Linked DNA regions of Homo sapiens: regions 1, 3 and 4 are each linked to region 2. Evidence: promoter capture Hi-C in 16 types of primary human blood cells and fetal thymus (Javierre and others, 2016). All regions are on one chromosome and are shown on one strand. Each heading gives the region's core, a stretch centred on a gene start or on the middle of the fragment in contact. The rest is flanking DNA. Distances are from core to core; before and after follow the strand shown. Region 1 has its middle 17 kb from the start of IL37. Region 2 holds the start of IL1B (interleukin 1 beta). Region 3 overlaps CKAP2L (cytoskeleton associated protein 2 like). Region 4 holds the start of NT5DC4 (5'-nucleotidase domain containing 4).

What was found. Contacts are between HindIII fragments. The CHiCAGO score rates a contact against its expected background, and 5 or more counts as called.
Region 1: a fragment that was not itself captured here is called in contact with the fragment with the promoter of IL1B in region 2 in 7 of 17 cell types (megakaryocytes, M1 macrophages, endothelial precursors and 4 more); the score reaches 13.1 in megakaryocytes.
Region 3: a contact is called between a fragment that was not itself captured here and the fragment with the promoter of IL1B in region 2, in 8 of 17 cell types (megakaryocytes, monocytes, M2 macrophages and 5 more). The highest score is 24.1, in megakaryocytes.
Region 4: a contact is called between the fragment with the promoter of NT5DC4 here and the fragment with the promoter of IL1B in region 2, in 4 of 17 cell types (neutrophils, monocytes, naive B cells and 1 more). The highest score is 9.0, in neutrophils.

The regions. Positions count from the first base shown.
Region 1 is chr2:112,926,048-112,931,207 of GRCh38, reverse strand. No RefSeq gene overlaps it. Among named protein-coding and RNA genes, the nearest start is that of IL37, 17 kb to the right of the region's middle. The HindIII fragment of the contact is 3,948 bases long and covers 1-3,232 here.
Region 2 is chr2:112,835,101-112,840,390 of GRCh38, reverse strand. It overlaps IL1B (interleukin 1 beta), which reads left to right and starts at 3,612. Exons shown (of 7, transcript NM_000576.3): 1 at 3,612-3,683; 2 at 4,147-4,208; 3 at 4,774-4,825. The coding sequence starts at 4,162. It overlaps AMANZI (a master non-coding RNA antagonizing inflammation), which reads right to left and starts at 599. Exons shown (of 1, transcript NR_197592.1): 1 at 1-599. The HindIII fragment of the contact is 1,771 bases long and covers 3,485-5,255 here.
Region 3 is chr2:112,758,053-112,762,985 of GRCh38, reverse strand. CKAP2L (cytoskeleton associated protein 2 like) reads left to right here. Exons shown (of 9, transcript NM_152515.5): 2 at 417-483; 3 at 2,222-2,273. Among named protein-coding and RNA genes, the nearest start is that of CKAP2L, 4.1 kb to the left of the region's middle. The HindIII fragment of the contact is 1,418 bases long and covers 753-2,170 here.
Region 4 is chr2:112,717,618-112,722,472 of GRCh38, reverse strand. NT5DC4 (5'-nucleotidase domain containing 4) reads right to left here and starts at 1,453. Exons shown (of 17, transcript NM_001393655.1): 1 at 1,320-1,453; 2 at 582-655; 3 at 370-487; 4 at 195-290. The coding sequence starts at 1,393. The HindIII fragment of the contact is 3,072 bases long and covers 1-1,486 here.

The sequences.
Region 1 (5,160 bases), core at 9-2,508, 93 kb before region 2:
TTTTATTATTCCCAATGATGCAAGAGTCTCAGGTATCATTGTGCTAGAAGACATGCCAGAACTCCAGGCATCCACTCACAGCTGTCAACACTGTACGTCCCTGAACCAGGTATGTGGTCCTCACCCTCAGATTACTAGAATACCTCTCTGGGCTGTGGCATCAGTAATTTTGCCCTTTCCCATCCTCTAGCCCAAGCCTAAATTGTCTTCCTTAGCTATGGACATGCAAGGCTGGGGAGATGAAATAGCATCATTGACTTGGCCAGGCTGTGTTTTCAACTACTAGGATCTCCTTCTAATAGCTTTTCTAACTTTCCAAATTTTATCCTCGATACCTACTCTGAACAACTTGCTCCAAGGTACAAGAGTAGACTTTTTCTCCCAGGAGGGCTTGCACCAGAAATCAATGAGTTATTAGTGATGTAGACAGAGGGAGAAAATGGAGCATGAGAGTATAATACCTTGGTGCATTGTGGTAGGGTACCACTGGTATCATTTGCTCCTCTATTCCAAGGGCTGGGATGACTGATATTAAAAGCAAATAGAGAATTTGTCTTAGGAAAGTGTTTTTGGAACCCATTGCTTTGGACTATCTTTGTTTGATAGAGATTGATGCCAAATGTTTGAATATAGCATTTCTTTAGGTGGACTTGTGGATATCACTTGAGTGCATACCATCTGAAGGTCTGCTGTGCATTTCATCAGGCCTGTGACCAATTATGTTTTGTGACTGAGTATCAGTCACCTAGATGTCTCCAAGTCCTGCAGGCTTAGGGTCATCCTGTTTGGAATTTTCTTTTTTTTTTTTTTTTGACACAGTCTCGCTCTGGATTGCAGTGGTGCGATCTCGGCCCACTGCAACCTCCACCTCCCAGGTTCAAGCGATTCTCCTGCCTCAGCCTCCCGAGTAGCTGGGAATAAAGGCACGCACCACCATGCCCAGCTAATTTTTGTATTTTTAGTGGAGACACGGTTTCACCGTGTTGGCCAGGATGGTCTCAATCTCTTGACCTTGTGATCCGCCCTCCTCAGCCTCCCAAAGTGTGGGATTACAGGCATGAGCCACCGCGCCCAGCCCCTGTTTGTAATTTTTAAGTAGAAATTTACTTGAACCCCTATCCAACATATGGTGGAAAACCTGGTTTGCTCTACCCTATTTCCTAACACCTGAGGAGTACCTCTCATGTCACTAATTTCTTTTATCTCCTGACCTTTCTGTCATGGCTCACATATTTCAATTGTTTCCTGTGTTGGTGCCAACTGACCCAGAACTCCCAACACACACACACACACACACACACACACACACACACAAAGCATCATCACAAAACATTTGTATCAGCCCAGTAATTCCTCAAACCTGGCTTTAGAAACACCTGGAGGACTTTTAAACATCCTAATGCCAAGCCTGCTCCCTGGATATTTCAATGTCAGCCATGCCTGAGAATCTGTCAACTAGCCCAGTGCTTCTCAAATGCGAGTGTGTGTGAGAATCACCTGGGGAGCTTGTTAAAATGCAGGCTCTGTTTCTGGGTCCCGGGTAGGGCTCTAGATTCTGCATCTCTAACAAGTTCTCAAGTGATGCTGATGCCGCTGATCCCCAGACCACACTTTGACTAGCAAAGAGCTATCAGATATGAGGGATGACAGGGGCCCAGCAAATAATTACAACTAAACATCAGACACATCAGTGACACCACTATCAGGAACTTCTCAGAGGCCATCCTGCTCCCCCAGTTCCAGCTCCAGGGCCCCCTCTCATTTCTCATTTCCCTTGGCTTCTACCTATTCCCAGGACCTTGTCTTTCTAGGGATGTCATGGCCACTATATATTTATTTAGTTATTTAATTTATTTCTGAGACAGAGTCTCTTTCTGTCACCCAGGCTAGAGTGCAGTGGCACAGTCATGGCTCAATGTATCCTTACCTTCCTGGGCTCAAGTGATCCTCCTACCTCAGCCTGCCAGGTAGCTGGGACTACAGGTGCATGCCACCACATGTGGTTAATTTTTTTTTTTCTTTTTTTTTTTGTAGAGGTCTTGTTGTTTCCCAGGCTGATCTCAAACCCCTGGCCTCAAGCAATCCTCCCACTTCAGCCTCCCAAAGCACTAGGATTACAGACATGAGTCACTACACTCTGCCAGGCTGGCATGTCTTTATCGGGCAGCTCAATCTAGTTCCCTCTGTCTCCAAGCACATCCCGGTCCCACTCTAAGAGCTGTCTTGCCACACCTAAATGCACCATCAAAAGGATTTGCTGATCCCAAGGCAGTACTGTGCCCAAGGAATGCTACCTCCAGCTTCTAAAGCAGAGGTTCCCAAAATCTCTCAGTTCATGGTATCCTTCGTGTCCCAGGAATTTCTTCACCGAGTACTTTAAGCCAAAAGAAACACCTGATGGTTCTGCTTCTCTCTCTCTCTCTCATTTTTTTTTTTTTGAGATGTAGTCTCACTATCACCCAAGCTGGAGTGCAGTGGCACGATTTTGGCTCACTACAACCTCCGCTTCCCAGGTTCAAGCAATTCTCCTGCCTCAGCCTCCTGAGTAGCTGGGGTTACAGGTGCATGCCACCATGCATGGCTAATTTTTATATTTTTAGTAGAGACGGGGTTTCACTATGTTGGTCAGGCTGGTCTCGAACTCCTGACCTCGTGATCTGCCCGCCTCGGCCTCCCAAAGTGCTGGGATTACAGATGTGAGCCACCGTGCCTGGCCAGTTCTGCTTCTTAAGCAATTGGGTTGAGACAATTTAATGCCAACGGTTTTCACGGGCCTGACAGATGTCACTGTGTTTTCTTCAGAATATTTAAATATCCCATGACACCTCGTGAGTGTGCTGAGGTGCCCTACAGTCCACACTTTGGGAACCATGGCTCAAAACTAATAGTTGGTATATATGGTACCTCCAAATGCCCTAGCAAGGTAATAGAAACCCATAGTGATGATTGTACGTGATGCAAATGGGGGACTGAATCTGACGGGAGAGGAGGGGATTTCAGGGAGGTGCTGTCCCACCACCAGCACCAACTGGATCTGGCACAAACAGGCCAACATTACTCTCTGTTGTAGCCAAGAGAGTCACTTTCTAGATTCATCTCTCAGTGGAAGTTCCAAAGGGTTCTGGGATTAGAATAGTATAAGAGAGAAAGTAAGGGCAGAAAGATAGTTTGTCTCTTGGTAAAAACTTGTAAACATGACTCATCTAATATCAGAAAATCTAGGAGGAAAGCTTAACTATTATCAGAATGCTGCGACACCTGATGGTGCAAACTGTTTCCAGTTAGGAGTCCAACCCTATGATACAGTGATTCTCAACCTTGGCTGCACAGTAAAATCATTTGGAGAGTTTTCAAAAAATACAAATGGCTGGGCTCCCACCCAGACCAGTTAGTTGAGTCAGTCTCCGAAGGCAAGATCCAGAGATCTATAATTATATATTTGTTTATTTATTTATTCGAGACAGGGTCTTGCTCTGTCACCCAGGCTGGAGTGCAGTGGCACAATTTCGGCTCACTGTAGCCTCAGCTTCTTGGGCTCAAGAGATCCTCCTGCCTCAGCCTCCCAAAGTGCTGGGATTACAGGTGTGCACCCAGCCTAAAAGTTTTAAATTTTGATGAGGTCCAATTTACCTATTTTTTTTTCTTTTGTTGCTTGTGCTTTCAGTGTCATCTAAGAATCAGCCAGCAAATCCAAGGTCATAAAGATATATCCCTGTTTTCTTCTAAGAATATTATAGTTTTAGCTCTTACATGTAAGTGTTTGAGCCATTTTGAGTTAATTTCTGTATATGGTGTGAGATAAGGGCCCAGTTGCATTCTTTCACATGTGGTTATCCAGCACCATTTGTTGAAAATATGATTCTTTCCCTCATTGAATGGTCTTGGCACCTTTGCTGAAAATCAATTGATCATAGATGTATGAGATTATTTCTGGACTCTCAATTCTATTCCATGTATTTACATCTCTCCTTAAGAGGTAGGGGGTGGGACTTGACTCTGGAGGCAGGACTTGGACACTGGACCAAACCGAGGACTAATTGAAACAGGGCTGGGGTGGAAGGAGCTTTTCATGTGACATACCCACCAGTTCGCCATATCAGTTTACCGTCATCATGGCAACACCAGGGAGTTCCCCGCCCCCCTTCCATGATGACTCCATGACCCAAAAGTTATTACCAATTCCGTAGAAATTTCTGCATAAATTGTCCCTTAATCTGCATGTGTTAAAAGTGGATATAAATGACTGCAAAACTGCCCTGAGTTGCTACTCTCTGCCTACAGGGTAGCCCTTCTGTGCAGGAGTAGTCAGAGTTGTAACAGGGCTGGAGCTGTAACAGGGCTGGAGCTGTAATACTGCCCCTTCAATAAAGCTGTTTTCTTGTCCCATGGGCTTGCCCTTGAATTCCTTCCTGGGCAAGGCCAAGAACCTTCACAGGTTAAGTCCCACTTTGGGGCTCACCTGTCCAGCATCACTTATGCCAGGACCATAGTGTTCTGATTACTGTAGCTTTGTAGCTAAGAGCTAAGTCTTGAAACTGGAAAGTGTAAATCCTCCAACTTTGTTCTTCTTTTTCAAGATTGTTTTGGCTATTTGGAACCTCCTGCAATTCCATGTGAATTTTGCGATCAGCTTGTCCATTTCTACAAAAAATAAAAAATAAAAATGGCACTTAAAATTTTGATAGGTGGCTGGGTGCAGTGGCTCATGCCTGCAATCCTAGCACTCCAGGAGGCTGAGGCAGACAGATCACCTGAAGTCAGGAGTTCGAAACCAGCCCGGCCAACATGGTGAAACCTTGTCTCCACCAAAAATACAAAAAATTAACTGGGCGTGGTGGCGTAGTTACTGTTAAAGCCCCACACTAGGCCCTTTGAAAAATACGGAATGTGTCAGAAATTAATTCTATACGATGATGTGACAACCACAATACAAGGTACTGCAATACAGCTGACCTCACCAAAGCACAAGCAGGGGCAGCTCAAAGAGGAAAATGTCACTTCCAGCAAGGGATTGAGGGAGGGCTTTAGGGAGGAAGTGGCATATAAGCCAGAATTACAGGATGGGGAGGATATAGACAGCAGATGACAGAGAGGAGAGTGAAAGCTGGGAATCCCAGCTAAAGGCATCAGGTTTATGGAATGAGTAGGGGACAATACTGT
Region 2 (5,290 bases), core at 2,363-4,862:
AGGGAAAGGAGAGAAATATCCACAAAGACAGGTGTGGGTACACACAACATTTTTCATACTTTAAGATCCCAGAGGGACTCATGGAAATGATACAAGAAAATGACTCATAAGAACAAATATTAGGAAGCCAGTGCCAAGAATGAGATGGGAAATTGGGGAAAATGTTGGGGGCAGATTGCTTAGTTCTGTTCTAAGCAAGAGGGTGAACAAGGAAGGAACAGCTCACTACAAAGAACAGACATCACTGCATGTACACACAATAATATAAGAACTAACCCATGATTATTTTGCTTGTCTTCTTGTTCAAAATGATTGAAGACCAATGAGATGAGATCAACCTTGATAACTGGCTGCGAAGCCCATGATTAGACACAAGATGGTATCAGGGCACTTGCTGCTTTGAATAAATGTCAGTCTCCTGTCTTGGAAGAATGACCTGACAGGGTAAAGAGGAACTTGCAGCTGAGAAAGGCTTTAGTGACTCAAGAGCTGAATAATTCCCCAAAAGCTGGAGCATCCTGGCATTTCCAGCTCCCCATCTCTGCTTGTTCCACTTCCTTGGGGCTACATCACCATCTACATCATCATCACTCTTCCACTCCCTCCCTTAGTGCCAACTATGTTTATAGCGAGATATTTTCTGCTCATTGGGGATCGGAAGGAAGTGCTGTGGCCTGAGCGGTCTCCTTGGGAAGACAGGATCTGATACATACGTTGCACAACCTATTTGACATAAGAGGTTTCACTTCCTGAGATGGATGGGATGGTAGCAGATTTGGGTCCAGGTTACAGGGCCAGGATGAGACATGGCAGAACTGTGGAGACTGTTACGTCAGGGGGCATTGCCCCATGGCTCCAAAATTTCCCTCGAGCGAAAGCATCAGGGGCTCATGCAACCTGGATACTAGTGCTGCTTCAACCACACTGTGCTATTGGATGAGTCACTTCCACCCTCCTAGCCTTGATTTCTTCGTCTGCTGTTCACATTCAAATAGCTATTCATGTCTTCATCTCTGTGGTCCCACCATATCCCACCAGACAATCATTAGGGCTCCTCTTAGCTGGCAGATTCTGAGGTCCTGGATGCTACAATTGGAAGATGGAGAAGTAGAAGCTCAAGGTTTCTGACCTGTATCCCAAGTCCCAGAAGCAGAATGGACTAACTCAGAGCTGATGCTCGGGTCCCTTGCATATCTCCCTTCCTGTCACTGGCTTTGATCCTCCTTCGTTCAGCTTGTAATCACATCAACAGACCAAAGACATCTCTGTGTTCTGTCAGGAGAGTTCACAGAGCCACCAACCCTCCAGACCCTGCTGGTTGCCGCATAAAGACTCTGAGGAAGGGTTTGAGGCTGCTGTGATCATGCAATGAATGCATGATTGTACCACTGCACTCCAGCCTGGGGGATAAAGGTAGATCCTGTCTAGGAGAGAGAGAGAGAGAAAGAGAAAGAGAGAGAGAAGGGAGGGAGAGACAAAGAAAAAGAGAGAGAGGGAGGGAGAAAGAAAGAGAGAAAGAAAAGAGAAAAGAAAGAAAAAGAAAGAAAGAGAGAGAGGGAGGGAGGGAGAGAGAAAGAAAGAAAGAAAGAGAAAGAGAGAAAGAGAGAAAGAGAAAGAAAGGAAGAAAGAAAGAAAGAAAGAAAGAAAGAAAGAAAGAAAGAAAGAAAAGAAAAGAAAGAAAGAGAGAGAGAAAGAAAAAGAAAGAGGAAGGAAGGAAGGAAGGAAGAAAGACAGGCTCTGAGGAAGGTGGCAGTTCCTACAACGGGAGAACCAGTGGTTAATTTGCAAAGTGGATCCTGTGGAGGCAAAACAGAGGAGTCCCCTAGGCCACCCAGACAGGGCTTTTAGCTATCTGCAGGACCAGACACCAAATTTCAGGAGGGCTCAGTGTTAGGAATGGATTATGGCTTATCAAATTCACAGGAAACTAACATGTTGAACAGCTTTTAGATTTCCTGTGGAAAATATAACTTACTAAAGATGGAGTTCTTGTGACTGACTCCTGATATCAAGATACTGGGAGCCAAATTAAAAATCAGAAGGCTGCTTGGAGAGCAAGTCCATGAAATGCTCTTTTTCCCACAGTAGAACCTATTTCCCTCGTGTCTCAAATACTTGCACAGAGGCTCACTCCCTTGGATAATGCAGAGCGAGCACGATACCTGGCACATACTAATTTGAATAAAAATGCTGTCAAATTCCCATTCACCCATTCAAGCAGCAAACTCTACCACCTGAATGTACATGCCAGGCACTGTGCTAGACTTGGCTCAAAAAGATTTCAGTTTCCTGGAGGAACCAGGAGGAGCAAGGTTTCAACTCAGTGCTATAAGAAGTGTTACAGGCTGGACACGGTGGCTCACGCCTGTAATCCCAACACTTTGGGAGGCCGAGGCGGGCAGATCACAAGGTCAGGAGATCGAGACCATCCTGGCTAACATGGTGAAACCCTGTCTCTACTAAAAATACAAAAAATTAGCCGGGCGTGGCGGCAGGTGCCTGTAGTCCCAGCTGCTGGGGAGGCTGAGGCAGGAGAATGGTGTGAACCCGGGAGGCGGAACTTGCAGGGGGCCGAGATCGTGCCACTGCACTCCAGCCTGGGCGACAGAGTGAGACTCTGTCTCAAAAAAAAAAAAAAAGTGTTATGATGCAGACCTGTCAAAGAGGCAAAGGAGGGTGTTCCTACACTCCAGGCACTGTTCATAACCTGGACTCTCATTCATTCTACAAATGGAGGGCTCCCCTGGGCAGTACCCTGGAGCAGGCACTTTGCTGGTGTCTCGGTTAAAGAGAAACTGATAACTCTTGGTTGGTATTACCAAGAGATAGAGTCTCAGATGGATATTCTTACAGAAACAATATTCCACTTTTCAGAGTTCACCAAAAAATCATTTTAGGCAGAGCTCATCTGGCATTGATCTGGTTCATCCATGAGATTGGCTAGGGTAACAGCACCTGGTCTTGCAGGGTTGTGTGAGCTTATCTCCAGGGTTGCCCCAACTCCGTCAGGAGCCTGAACCCTGCATACCGTATGTTCTCTGCCCCAGCCAAGAAAGGTCAATTTTCTCCTCAGAGGCTCCTGCAATTGACAGAGAGCTCCTGAGGCAGAGAACAGCACCCAAGGTAGAGACCCACACCCTCAATACAGACAGGGAGGGCTATTGGCCCTTCATTGTACCCATTTATCCATCTGTAAGTGGGAAGATTCCTAAACTTAAGTACAAAGAAGTGAATGAAGAAAAGTATGTGCATGTATAAATCTGTGTGTCTTCCACTTTGTCCCACATATACTAAATTTAAACATTCTTCTAACGTGGGAAAATCCAGTATTTTAATGTGGACATCAACTGCACAACGATTGTCAGGAAAACAATGCATATTTGCATGGTGATACATTTGCAAAATGTGTCATAGTTTGCTACTCCTTGCCCTTCCATGAACCAGAGAATTATCTCAGTTTATTAGTCCCCTCCCCTAAGAAGCTTCCACCAATACTCTTTTCCCCTTTCCTTTAACTTGATTGTGAAATCAGGTATTCAACAGAGAAATTTCTCAGCCTCCTACTTCTGCTTTTGAAAGCCATAAAAACAGCGAGGGAGAAACTGGCAGATACCAAACCTCTTCGAGGCACAAGGCACAACAGGCTGCTCTGGGATTCTCTTCAGCCAATCTTCATTGCTCAAGTATGACTTTAATCTTCCTTACAACTAGGTGCTAAGGGAGTCTCTCTGTCTCTCTGCCTCTTTGTGTGTATGCATATTCTCTCTCTCTCTCTCTTTCTTTCTCTGTCTCTCCCTCTCCTTCCCTCTCTGCCTCCCTCTCTCAGCTTTTTGCAAAAATGCCAGGTGTAATATAATGCTTATGACTCGGGAAATATTCTGGGAATGGATACTGCTTATCTAACAGCTGACACCCTAAAGGTTAGTGTCAAAGCCTCTGCTCCAGCTCTCCTAGCCAATACATTGCTAGTTGGGGTTTGGTTTAGCAAATGCTTTTCTCTAGACCCAAAGGACTTCTCTTTCACACATTCATTCATTTACTCAGAGATCATTTCTTTGCATGACTGCCATGCACTGGATGCTGAGAGAAATCACACATGAACGTAGCCGTCATGGGGAAGTCACTCATTTTCTCCTTTTTACACAGGTGTCTGAAGCAGCCATGGCAGAAGTACCTGAGCTCGCCAGTGAAATGATGGCTTATTACAGGTCAGTGGAGACGCTGAGACCAGTAACATGAGCAGGTCTCCTCTTTCAAGAGTAGAGTGTTATCTGTGCTTGGAGACCAGATTTTTCCCCTAAATTGCCTCTTTCAGTGGCAAACAGGGTGCCAAGTAAATCTGATTTAAAGACTACTTTCCCATTACAAGTCCCTCCAGCCTTGGGACCTGGAGGCTATCCAGATGTGTTGTTGCAAGGGCTTCCTGCAGAGGCAAATGGGGAGAAAAGACTCCAAGCCCACAATACAAGGAATCCCTTTGCAAAGTGTGGCTTGGAGGGAGAGGGAGAGCTCAGATTTTAGCTGACTCTGCTGGGCTAGAGGTTAGGCCTCAAGATCCAACAGGGAGCACCCAGGGTGCCCACCTGCCAGGCCTAGAATCTGCCTTCTGGACTGTTCTGCGCATATCACTGTGAAACTTGCCAGGTGTTTCAGGCAGCTTTGAGAGGCAGGCTGTTTGCAGTTTCTTATGAACAGTCAAGTCTTGTACACAGGGAAGGAAAAATAAACCTGTTTAGAAGACATAATTGAGACATGTCCCTGTTTTTATTACAGTGGCAATGAGGATGACTTGTTCTTTGAAGCTGATGGCCCTAAACAGATGAAGGTAAGACTATGGGTTTAACTCCCAACCCAAGGAAGGGCTCTAACACAGGGAAAGCTCAAAGAAGGGAGTTCTGGGCCACTTTGATGCCATGGTATTTTGTTTTAGAAAGACTTTAACCTCTTCCAGTGAGACACAGGCTGCACCACTTGCTGACCTGGCCACTTGGTCATCATATCACCACAGTCACTCACTAACGTTGGTGGTGGTGGCCACACTTGGTGGTGACAGGGGAGGAGTAGTGATAATGTTTCCCATTTCATAGTAGGAAGACAACCAAGTCTTCAACATAAATTTGATTATCCTTTTAAGAGATGGATTCAGCCTATGCCAATCACTTGAGTTAAACTCTGAAACCAAGAGATGATCTTGAGAACTAACATATGTCTACCCCTTTTGAGTAGAATAGTTTTTTGCTACCTGGGGTGAAGCTTATAACAACAAGACATAGATGATATAAACAAAAAG
Region 3 (4,933 bases), core at 212-2,711, 75 kb after region 2:
AGTGAGATCCTGTCTCTACAAAAAATTTTTTTAAAATTATCCAGCATGGTGGTACACGCCTGTATTCCCAGCTACTCAGGAGACTGAGGTGTGAGGATTGCTAGAACCTGGGAGATCAAGTCAACAGTGAGCCGTGGTTGTGCCACTGCCCTCCAACCTCAGTGACAGAGGAAGACCCTGTCTCAAAAAAAAAAAAAAAAGTAGTAAGTTTAAAGAACTTAGTGTAGGCCTGGCATATAAATGATATTGTTGATGTTGATGTTAGCTTGAAGGCACATTTATAGGACTAGGGATTTTATAACATTATGTTGCAAAGGCAAAATCACTAGAGAAAAGTGTCATCTTTTAGAATATTAATGAACTGGTTAAAATCTTGAACTAAAGTTATGTCGTTTGTTTGCTTGCCTGTGTTGCAGAAGAGCGGCAGAGAAAGCTTCAGGAGTACCTTGCAGCCAAGGGAAAACTGAAGAGCCAAAACACCAAGTGAGTTTATCTGTCCACAGTTACGCAAGTTTTGTTGCCTTCTTTGTACTAGCAATTTAAAGCCTTTTTGAAAAATGTCCCTTTTGCTTAGAGTCTACTCAGACTGCACTGGGATTCTATGATAACGCAAAAAGAGCATTTCAGTCCAGGCATGACAAAAACCCCTGGGCAGTGCTTAGTCCATTGGCAAAGCTTTATGCATTATTACTGTGTGAATCTCCAAAGGAAGGAGGGAAGAAGGGTCAGTATTACCTACCATGCTGGAAGCTTTGCCTGTTTCTGCTTTTTTTTTCTTGGGGAAGTTGATTCTCATGAAGGCAGTTTTTGGTCAAGAACTTGAATGACCATGGTTCTGGCATTTCTTGCTAAGGCAGGAGAGCCAGTTACAATCAATCCTCCGTAGCAGAGTGATACCCTCTGCTCTTGGGTCATTCTCTTAGCATTTACTGTTAAGGTAGACAGAACATGTCCACTTCATTTTTATCCTTTGTAGATTCTTACCATCTTTGTCGTGTTATTTGTCCTTTCTTAGCATTAATTAATTTTTTCCCCATTTGAGTTGCTAAGTATTTATTTGAAAATTAATTTTTACAAAGTTAGCTTTCACCCTTTATTTTATCTTGGGTGTTTACTCACCTCTATTTCCTTGATTAAATGAACCTAATTCACTTATTCAACAAATATTTATTTAGTACCTATAACATCTCAGTCACTTCTGATGCTAGAGATAATGGCGCTTAACAAGACAGACATTCCTGCCCTCCCAGGGCTTATGCTGTAGATGGGAGAGACAAACATCAAACAAGTCATAATCAAAGTCCTTGTTAGTCTAGCAATTGTTTTTGGTCCATGCAGATTGATTCCTTCTAAATTCACCTCTGTTTTCCAATCCTTTTTCTGCATTTCCTGTCTCACTAGCTATATTTCATGTGTGTCTTGGTTTTTTTTTTTTTAATATTTCTTTACCCCCTTAAAGTTAGAAGAGATAGTATTTGAAGATACTGAAAACAAGGAAATTTTTTTTTTTTTTTTTTTTTTTTTTGAGACGGAGTCTCACTCTGTTGCCCAGGCTGGAGTGCAGTGGCGCAATCTTGGCTCACTGCAAGCTCTGCCTCCCAGTTTCACGCCATTTTCCTGCCTCAGCCTCCCGAGTAGCTGGGACAACAGGCATGTGCCACCATGCCCAGCTAATTTTTTTGTATTTTTAGTAGCGATGGGGTTTCACTGTGTTAGCCAGGATGGTCTCTATTTCCTGATCTCATGATCCGCCTGCCTTGGCCTCCCAAAGTGCTGGGATTACAGGCGTGAGCCACTACGCCCAGCCGGAAATTTTTTAAAGAAGCAGTTAATGGTTTTATTTGGCATTGTGTCTTCGGTGTCTGGCACATTGCAGTGCTCCAGGAATGATGTGTGAATGAGTAAGACTATATAAATATGAAGGAAACACATATATCTCATTAATATTGTGAGAATGCTAGATTTATGTATAGACAGTCTCTGTAAGGATCACAAGGCAAAAAAAAAAAGAGTAGGAGCAGTTGGTGGTCTCCAAGGGGGAGGATACAGAACTAAAGAAATGATGATAAGGAGACTTTATTAAATATAATTTTGAATTATTTTGCCATTACAGAAATTCTAATTATTTAAAATTCTATTCATAATTTTTAATCACTGTACTTCCCAAGCTTAGCTTAGAATCCTTCTGTGCTGAGGATTAATTTTAATTTGTCTTTTATAGGCCTTATCTAAAATCCAAGAATAATTGCCAGAATCAACCACCTTCTAAATCTGTAAGTAGAAATTAGTCTTTTTAAAAATATGCATTCATAAGTATGATTAGTAATAAAAATAATAAAGATGTTAGCAACCTAAAGAACATGTATTTGAAAGGTATTTCTTACAGATATAAAAACAGTTTGGTTTAATAAGAGACAATCATTTTTTGAAAAGTATGACATTTTTTGAAAAGTAGTTTAGTTTTATTAACCAAGAAAAGCCTCAAGTGAACTTTAGTCCTCTTGATAGCTAACATTTATTGAATGCTTACTGTGTGCCTGATACTTTTCTGACTTGCATTACCTCACTGAGTCCTCACAATCTTATGAGGCTACTATTAGTAGCCCCACTTTACAGATAAGCAAACTAAGTCACAGAAAGGTTAAATAGGTCGTATAGCTATTAAGTGACAAAGCTGAGAGCCTGTGATCTTAACCACTTTGGTATGCTGCCATGAAGTTAAATAGCTCAGTAGTCATTAAAAGAGAACATTTGCATTGAACCTTCCAAGCCACTTAACAAGTATATGCTTCCTAATCAATTTAATTTAGCTACATTAGATAGAATGGTAAAGGATCCTTAACTTAAAGTTTAAATGGAAGAAATTAGCCCTCTGAAAGAGGCACAGATTATTCATCTGCAATAAAAATCTCACCTTTAGTTTTTTAAAACATAGTTTTTATCTGTGTTCTGAAATGTAACTAAAACAGTGCTTCCTGAAGTGAAAAATTCTCACTGGTGAGAATTTTAATAAGTTTTAATGATTCACCAAATCACTTCAGTCATATTTCAGTCATATGCATATGCATATATAGACATATAAGTTTTTATCTGTGTTCTGAAATGTAACTAAAATAGTGCTTCCTGAAGTGAAAAATTCTCACTGGTGAGAATTTTAATAAGTTTTAATGATTCACCAAATCACTTCAGTCATATTTCAGTCATATGCATATGCATATGTAGACATATATATGTTGTATGTATACATGACATCATTAGACACTGTGAAGGATAGCAAAATGTATATAAGGCAAAATTTATGAACAATGGTTTAACGTTTGGGAAGCACTGGGTTACACTTTTACTTTATGCAGATTGAACCAGTATAGTATGCAAGTCTTAAGGAAAAATCTACTGGAAAGGGCCCTCATTCAGACTTCCCAGAGGCTTCTCTGGAAGTTGACAATACTGACTTCAGTACATCAGCTCGTAAATGAGGATGATACCTACCTTATCTGCTTTACACAGTTGTAAAAGTAAAAAGTGAACTCAGGAAGGGAATTACAGAATTTAGGAGAAACTAAAAGCACGATGTAAATAATAGTCATCATTACAGTTATATAATGCTTGACAATTTATATAACACTTTCGATACATGACAACAATAACTAACACCCAGACATGTTTATATACATTACCTCACTCAGAACAACCATGTGAGGAAGTTGGCCATATGCTTTAATGTCCAAACCAGGACACTTTGAGAGTAAAAAGCAGTACTCTTTGACCAACAGGCATAAATCAAAACTATCTTGTGAAAACCGGGATATATGGCATCCTTCCTAGATAATAGATACTTTTACTATTATTAATTTTGCTGTGAATCTAAACCTGCTCTAAAAAAGTTAATTTTAAAAAGTAATGAAGTACTGATACATGCTACAACATGGGTAAATCTTGAAAACGTTATGCTAAGTGAAAGAAGCCAGACAGAAAAGGCCACATATTACATGATTCCATTTATATGACACATCTAAAATAGGCACATCTATAGACATACAGAGACAGAAAGTAGACTAGCGGTTGCCAAGAACTGCAGGGAGCAGAAAATGGGGAGTGACTGCCAACAAGTAAACCAAGTTTCTTTCTAGGGTGATGAATATGTTCTGGAATTAGACAGTGGTGATTGCTGTATAATAGTGTGGCTATACTAAAATCCACAGAAGTGTGCACTTACTAAAATGGTGAATTTTATGGTTTGTGGATTATATCAATTTGTTTTTAATATATAAGAAAGCAACTAAAAAAACACATTTGGAAGCTTTCATGCCAACGTCCCTCCACCTCTTCAGTAAGCAATGATGGAGAGATCCGAGGTGTATATAAATGTTGGTGCTCAAAGATTAATCCAGATATAGCCATTGTGGGTATACCATCCATCTCTCTGCCTCCCACTCCCAACTCCGCTGTTTCACTCCTAGTAACACCACACACACCGCTATCATCCAGAGTAGACATCTCTTTGCCCTCAATGCCAAATGGTTCTGGTTAGAAATCCTTTACATACTCGCCAAGTTTATGTAGTGATTCTTCACAATATTTGTCAAATCAAAAATAGAGTGGTAACTCTAGCATTCCCATATCTTACCCTGGAAACATATTCCATAAATCTCTGTGAAATTCTCCTTTCTGAGTAATTGCTTTCATGAGAGATGCTCAGGAATTCATAGTGGCTTGCCCAATTACTTACCATATGAATTCTAAACTCCCTTCCCTAGTTTTCAAAATTCTCTGTAATCGAGTCCTACCTTTCTTATCCAAACTTAAATCACATGACTAAACATTTGTTTATTATTAACATAGACTCTAACCTTAAAACCCTGTCCTGGCTGATTTTACAAATATGACTATTAAGATGTTACATGTTTATTGAGAGCTGTGGCAGCATATCTCA
Region 4 (4,855 bases), core at 204-2,703, 120 kb after region 2:
CCAATGACCCCTCCCCAGTGCCTCCTGGAGGCCTGTCCAGGCTCTGGCCATCCCTTCCAACCACCACGCATCCCTTCTGTGCTGAGCCTCCACCGTGGGCCTGCGTCCTTCCTCCCTCCCTCCCTCTGTCCTCCCCCAAGGTGAGCAGTCCTCCCCTCCTGGCCTGCCACTCTCCCGGCACCTTTGTCCCTTACTCCGAGAGGAAGGTGAAGCCATAGGCACCCAGCAGCACATTCCCGTGGGCGTCCACCTTCAGCAGGTTCCCATAGAGTTCATCGAACACCAGCCGCCTGCAGACGGGGGGTCGGGGGGCACTGTGGGTGGGGGTACCAAGGCCGGGTGGCCTCCCACCTGTCCTGAGCCACACACCTGGTGGGGAAGGTGGGGTCGTAGGTGTAGCGCAGGATCTCATGCGGGTACCCAATGCACACCAGGCGCTCCAGCAGCAGCTCGAAGGTCAGGGCCTCATAAGCTGGGGACTTGTAGGCTGCAGAGGCCCGGACAGAATCAGGGCTTTGGTGCCCAGCTGCCCACCCCTGCTCCCTCCAGCTCCCAATACGCTGTGTTCCAGCCCTCTCTACCAGCCAGAGTGTAGTCCATGTCGAAGCCAAAGCAACGAATCTTCCCCAGCGCCAGGCTGCGGTTGACAAAAATCCTGGGGAGAGAGAGGAGGATGTTGGCATCAGTCCACCAGCCCCCCAGAATCCAAGGCCCAAGGACAGAGGGGGTGGAAACCCCGCAGAGGAGGGCAGAGCACCCCCTGCAGCTGCAGAAAGCACAGGGGAAGCAGGTCAGGCCAAGCCAGGGCCCTGCCTGGACCCATGTGTGTCTGAAGGCAAGTGTGAGTGTGCATGTAAGCATGTGTGAGCATGTGTGCAAGCGTGCATCTGAGTGTGTGCGGGCAATCAGCCGCTTGCTGTCCCACCATGCAGGCATGTTATAGGCATCCAACCCTGTAAGAAAGTAGGTGCAGTTGTTGGTGTGAGGGTTGTCACCTTCTGAAATGGGACCCCAGTGTCCAAATTCAGAGATGATGTGTTTGTCACAATTGGATAGCACATGTCACTGTGTCCGTGGTGAAGGGGAGAGATCTTCGTGGAGGGAAGGAAGTGAAGAGGACCTCCCGCCGGAGTGTGTGTGGTCAGTTCCCTGATGGGTTGTTACAGCTATGGAAGTGCGTCCCTTGTGAGTGCAAGTGTACGTCTGCATTTTGGGAGTCCCCATAGCTGTGTATTTAAAGGAGCCCCTGTGTGCTGCTGTGGCGTGTGGGGTGTTTATGGGCTGAGACCCCTGGCCCCCACCCCAGGTGCCCATCTCACCGCTGGTGCCAGTCCTGCTTCGGGCCTTGAGGGGAGACCAGTCCCTCCGGCTCTCTCCAGTCTACACTGGCCATCGTCACCCAGAGTGAGGAGGAGGCAAGTGTCCCTTCCTCAGCCTCCTGCACACTATCAGTGGGGCCCAGCCACTCTCCTCTCCCTCAGAAGCTTCAGGCACCACTGACCCAGCTGGCCCCACCCTGTGCTCCCATCTCCCCCGAGCCCCTTTGAGGGAGGAGTCAGCCAGGACAGGCTCTGGTATCCCATCCTTTTCTCTAGAGCAAAAGCAGCAAGGATCTAGGAAGAGCAATTCATGTCCACTGCACCCTCCTCATTCCTAGGGCTTATGCATCCATGGACCTCAGCGGCCTGGAGAGTAGCGGAGAACCCAGAATGAGGCAAATGACGGGATACAAAGTCAGGAGGCTCCGTACTGTACTCATGATAAAAGAAATAACTCAGTACTCTTGCTTTATGCACAATTCTGACACATTTGGTTATCAAATTTCCCAGCTCAAGGCCATTTAGAGAAGACATTGCTAGAAGCATGCCAAGGGCTATAAGAATTGGGAAGATAACTGGGATCTCAGAATGGGGGGGTGGCAGAAAGTACAAAAGGAAGTGTCAAAAAGCAGAACCACTGGGGCCATTTAGTGTAGAGTTCTAAATACTCCCTGAGGGCCCATACCACTGGCTCCACAACCAAGCATGTGACTTCCATTTGGAGCGGTGACCTGGATCATCCAGAAAGACTTAACTGAAGTGCCAGGCCCTCTTTTAAAAAGAAAGACAAGGCTGGGCACAGTGGCTCACGCCTGTAATCCCAGCACTTTGGGAGGCCAAGGTGGGTGGATACGTGGTCAGGAGATCAAGACCAGCCTGGCCAAGATGGTGAAACCCTGTCTCTACTAAAAATACGAAGAAAAAAAAAATTGCCCTCTTGGGAGCCTGAGGCAGGAGAAAAAAAAAATTAGCCTCTTGGCAGCTTCTCGGGAGGCTGAGGCAGGAGAATTGCTTGAACCCAGGGGTTGGAGGTTGCAATGAGCCGAGATTGCTGCACTCCAGGCTGGGCAACAGAGTGAGATCCTGTCAATAAAAAGGGAAAGAAAAAGGAAGAAAGAAGGAAGGAAGGAAGGAAGGAAGGGAAAAGAAAAGAAAAGAAAAGAAAAAGAAAGAAAGAAAGAAAGAAAGAAAGAAAGAAAGAAAGAAAGAAAGAAAGAAAGAAAGAAAGAGAAAGAAAGAAAGAAAGAAAAAGAAAGAAAGAAAGGAAAGAAAGAAAGAGAAAGAAAGGAGGGAGGGAGGGAGGGAGGGAGGGAAGGAAGGAAGGAAGGGAAAGGAAAGGAAATGAAGAAAAGGAAAGGAAGAAAGAAAAGGGCCTGGCGCAGTGGCTCACACCTGTAATCCCAGCACTTTGGGAGGCCAAGGCGGGCAGATCACTAGGTCGGGAGTTTGAGACAAGCCTGGCCAGCACGGTGAAACCCCATCTCTACTAACAATACCAAGATTAACCAGGCATGGTTGCGCATGCCTGTAATCCCAGCTACTCAGGAGGCTGAGGTGGGAGAACCACTTGAACCCAGAAAGCAGAGGTTGCAGTCATCCAAGATCGTGCCACTGCACTCCAGCCTGGGCAACACAGCAAGACTCCGTCTCAAAAAAAAAAAAAAAAAAAAAAGACAGACAAGTTTACAGTCGGTTTCAGCACTTTCTCTCTAAAATGGCTAAACTAAACTAAATGAAGGTGGCACTCTTAAAAGGATAAAAGTTATCTGGAACAACAACAGAAAAACATATCCATGGAAGAGCTCCTTCCTTGACAAAGCCAGGTGAGCAAGCACAGTTGTGTGCTGCGGAACGATGTTCCGCCCAACAGTGGACTGCGTATGCCACTGAGTCCCATAAGGTGATAAGGAGCTCAACAACTCCTATGGCTTAGTGACCTCATCGCCATCATAATGCAAAGCATCACTCACATGTTTGTGGTGATGCTGGCTAGGAGAAATAGGCTGTACCCTGCAGCCGAGGTGTGTAGTAGGCTGTACCATCTAGGTTTGTGTAAGTGCACTCTATGACATCACACAATGGTGAAATCGACTAATGACACGTTTTTCAGAACAGATCCCTGTGGTCAAGCCCCGCATGACTGTATTAAGATGGTGAGGCAAGGATATGGAGGCTGTAGGATATGTGTTTCCTCATCGGATGGAGGAATGGAGGATGGATGGAGAGATGGGTGGATGCATGAATGAGTGAATGGACAGACAGTTGGATGGGTAGATTCGTGGATAGACGGGCTGATGGTTAGCAGGCTATATACAGCAGCCTTCACGGAAGGTGTCAGGGGAGAACTGAGCTTCAGAAATCAGGAGGCTGTCTGGAGTCGCTTCCACTCATTATTCCATGCGCTCTGCTCATCTCATGGGAGCCCTTTAAGCCCCTTTTCCACATTGCCTGGCTCCTTTCTAGGTCAGAAAAGAGAAGGAGGAGTAATACCTGGTTAGGAGAAGTCTCTAGGGGTTGCTCAGCCCTTCCACTGGGAGGCATCATGGCAGCTGTACAAAACCTGCCTTTCCTATAGCTGAACTTAGGCTCTATCTTGAAGGCTCTGTGCACCTGAGGGTGGTGAAGCCATCCAGCAACGTTCAGGTACGATGAATCACTTCAGTGGTTTCTCGGGTCCCTTCTCCAGGTACCTCTTCTGGGGTCAACTCGACAGTGTGGGACTTATCCGCAGCCACACTGGTAATTGGGAAGGGCTTCACTTCCTGGAGGGTCCCAGGTCCTCACATTGCTGTCTGTTAAGGTAGCCACATCCCTGTTGAGTCTTTGGCTGGCATGGTCTCTGCTACCGTCTTAGGATATGGCTGCTTGTCCAGACCACAGAGTCCTTAGGCTAACCGCATGTACAGTCAGGGAGGACTGCAGGCTGCCACAGGCCCCGCTTGGTCCTGATTCCTGAGCCAATGCTAAGGCACCCCTGTGAGGCTTGATGCACTGGGAGCCCCTTCAAGAAAAGACTTGCCACCATAACAATAAGCAAATGGTTGCCCATTTTTACTGTGTGCCAAGCCTCCTAACAGCCCCACGAGACAGGCTAACTGTTCACTGGATTCATGAATGATCAAACTGAGGCACAGAAGGGTTAAGCAACTCTCCCACACTTACCAGGCTGATAAATGGCAGAGTGGGACTGAGCCCAGGCAGCTGGGTGCCAGCATCCGTATTCTTAATCGGTAGGCAAAACCGCCTCTGCCCATGGCCCATCACAAAAGTCCCTTGACTTTTCAATGTCGTTAAAGACAAAGAAAGGTGGAGGAAATGTTCCAGATTACAGGAGGCTAAAGAGCCACGGTGAATGAACGCAATATTCAAGCCTACGCAGAATCCTGTACTGCAGGCACATATAGTGCCAAGGACATGATGGGGTCAACAAATAAGATTGCAGTGTGGGTGGTGGGTTAGATGAAAGTTCTGTCTCAATGTAAACCTGTGAACTTGATGACTATATTGTGGTAATGTAAGAAAATATCCCTATTCCT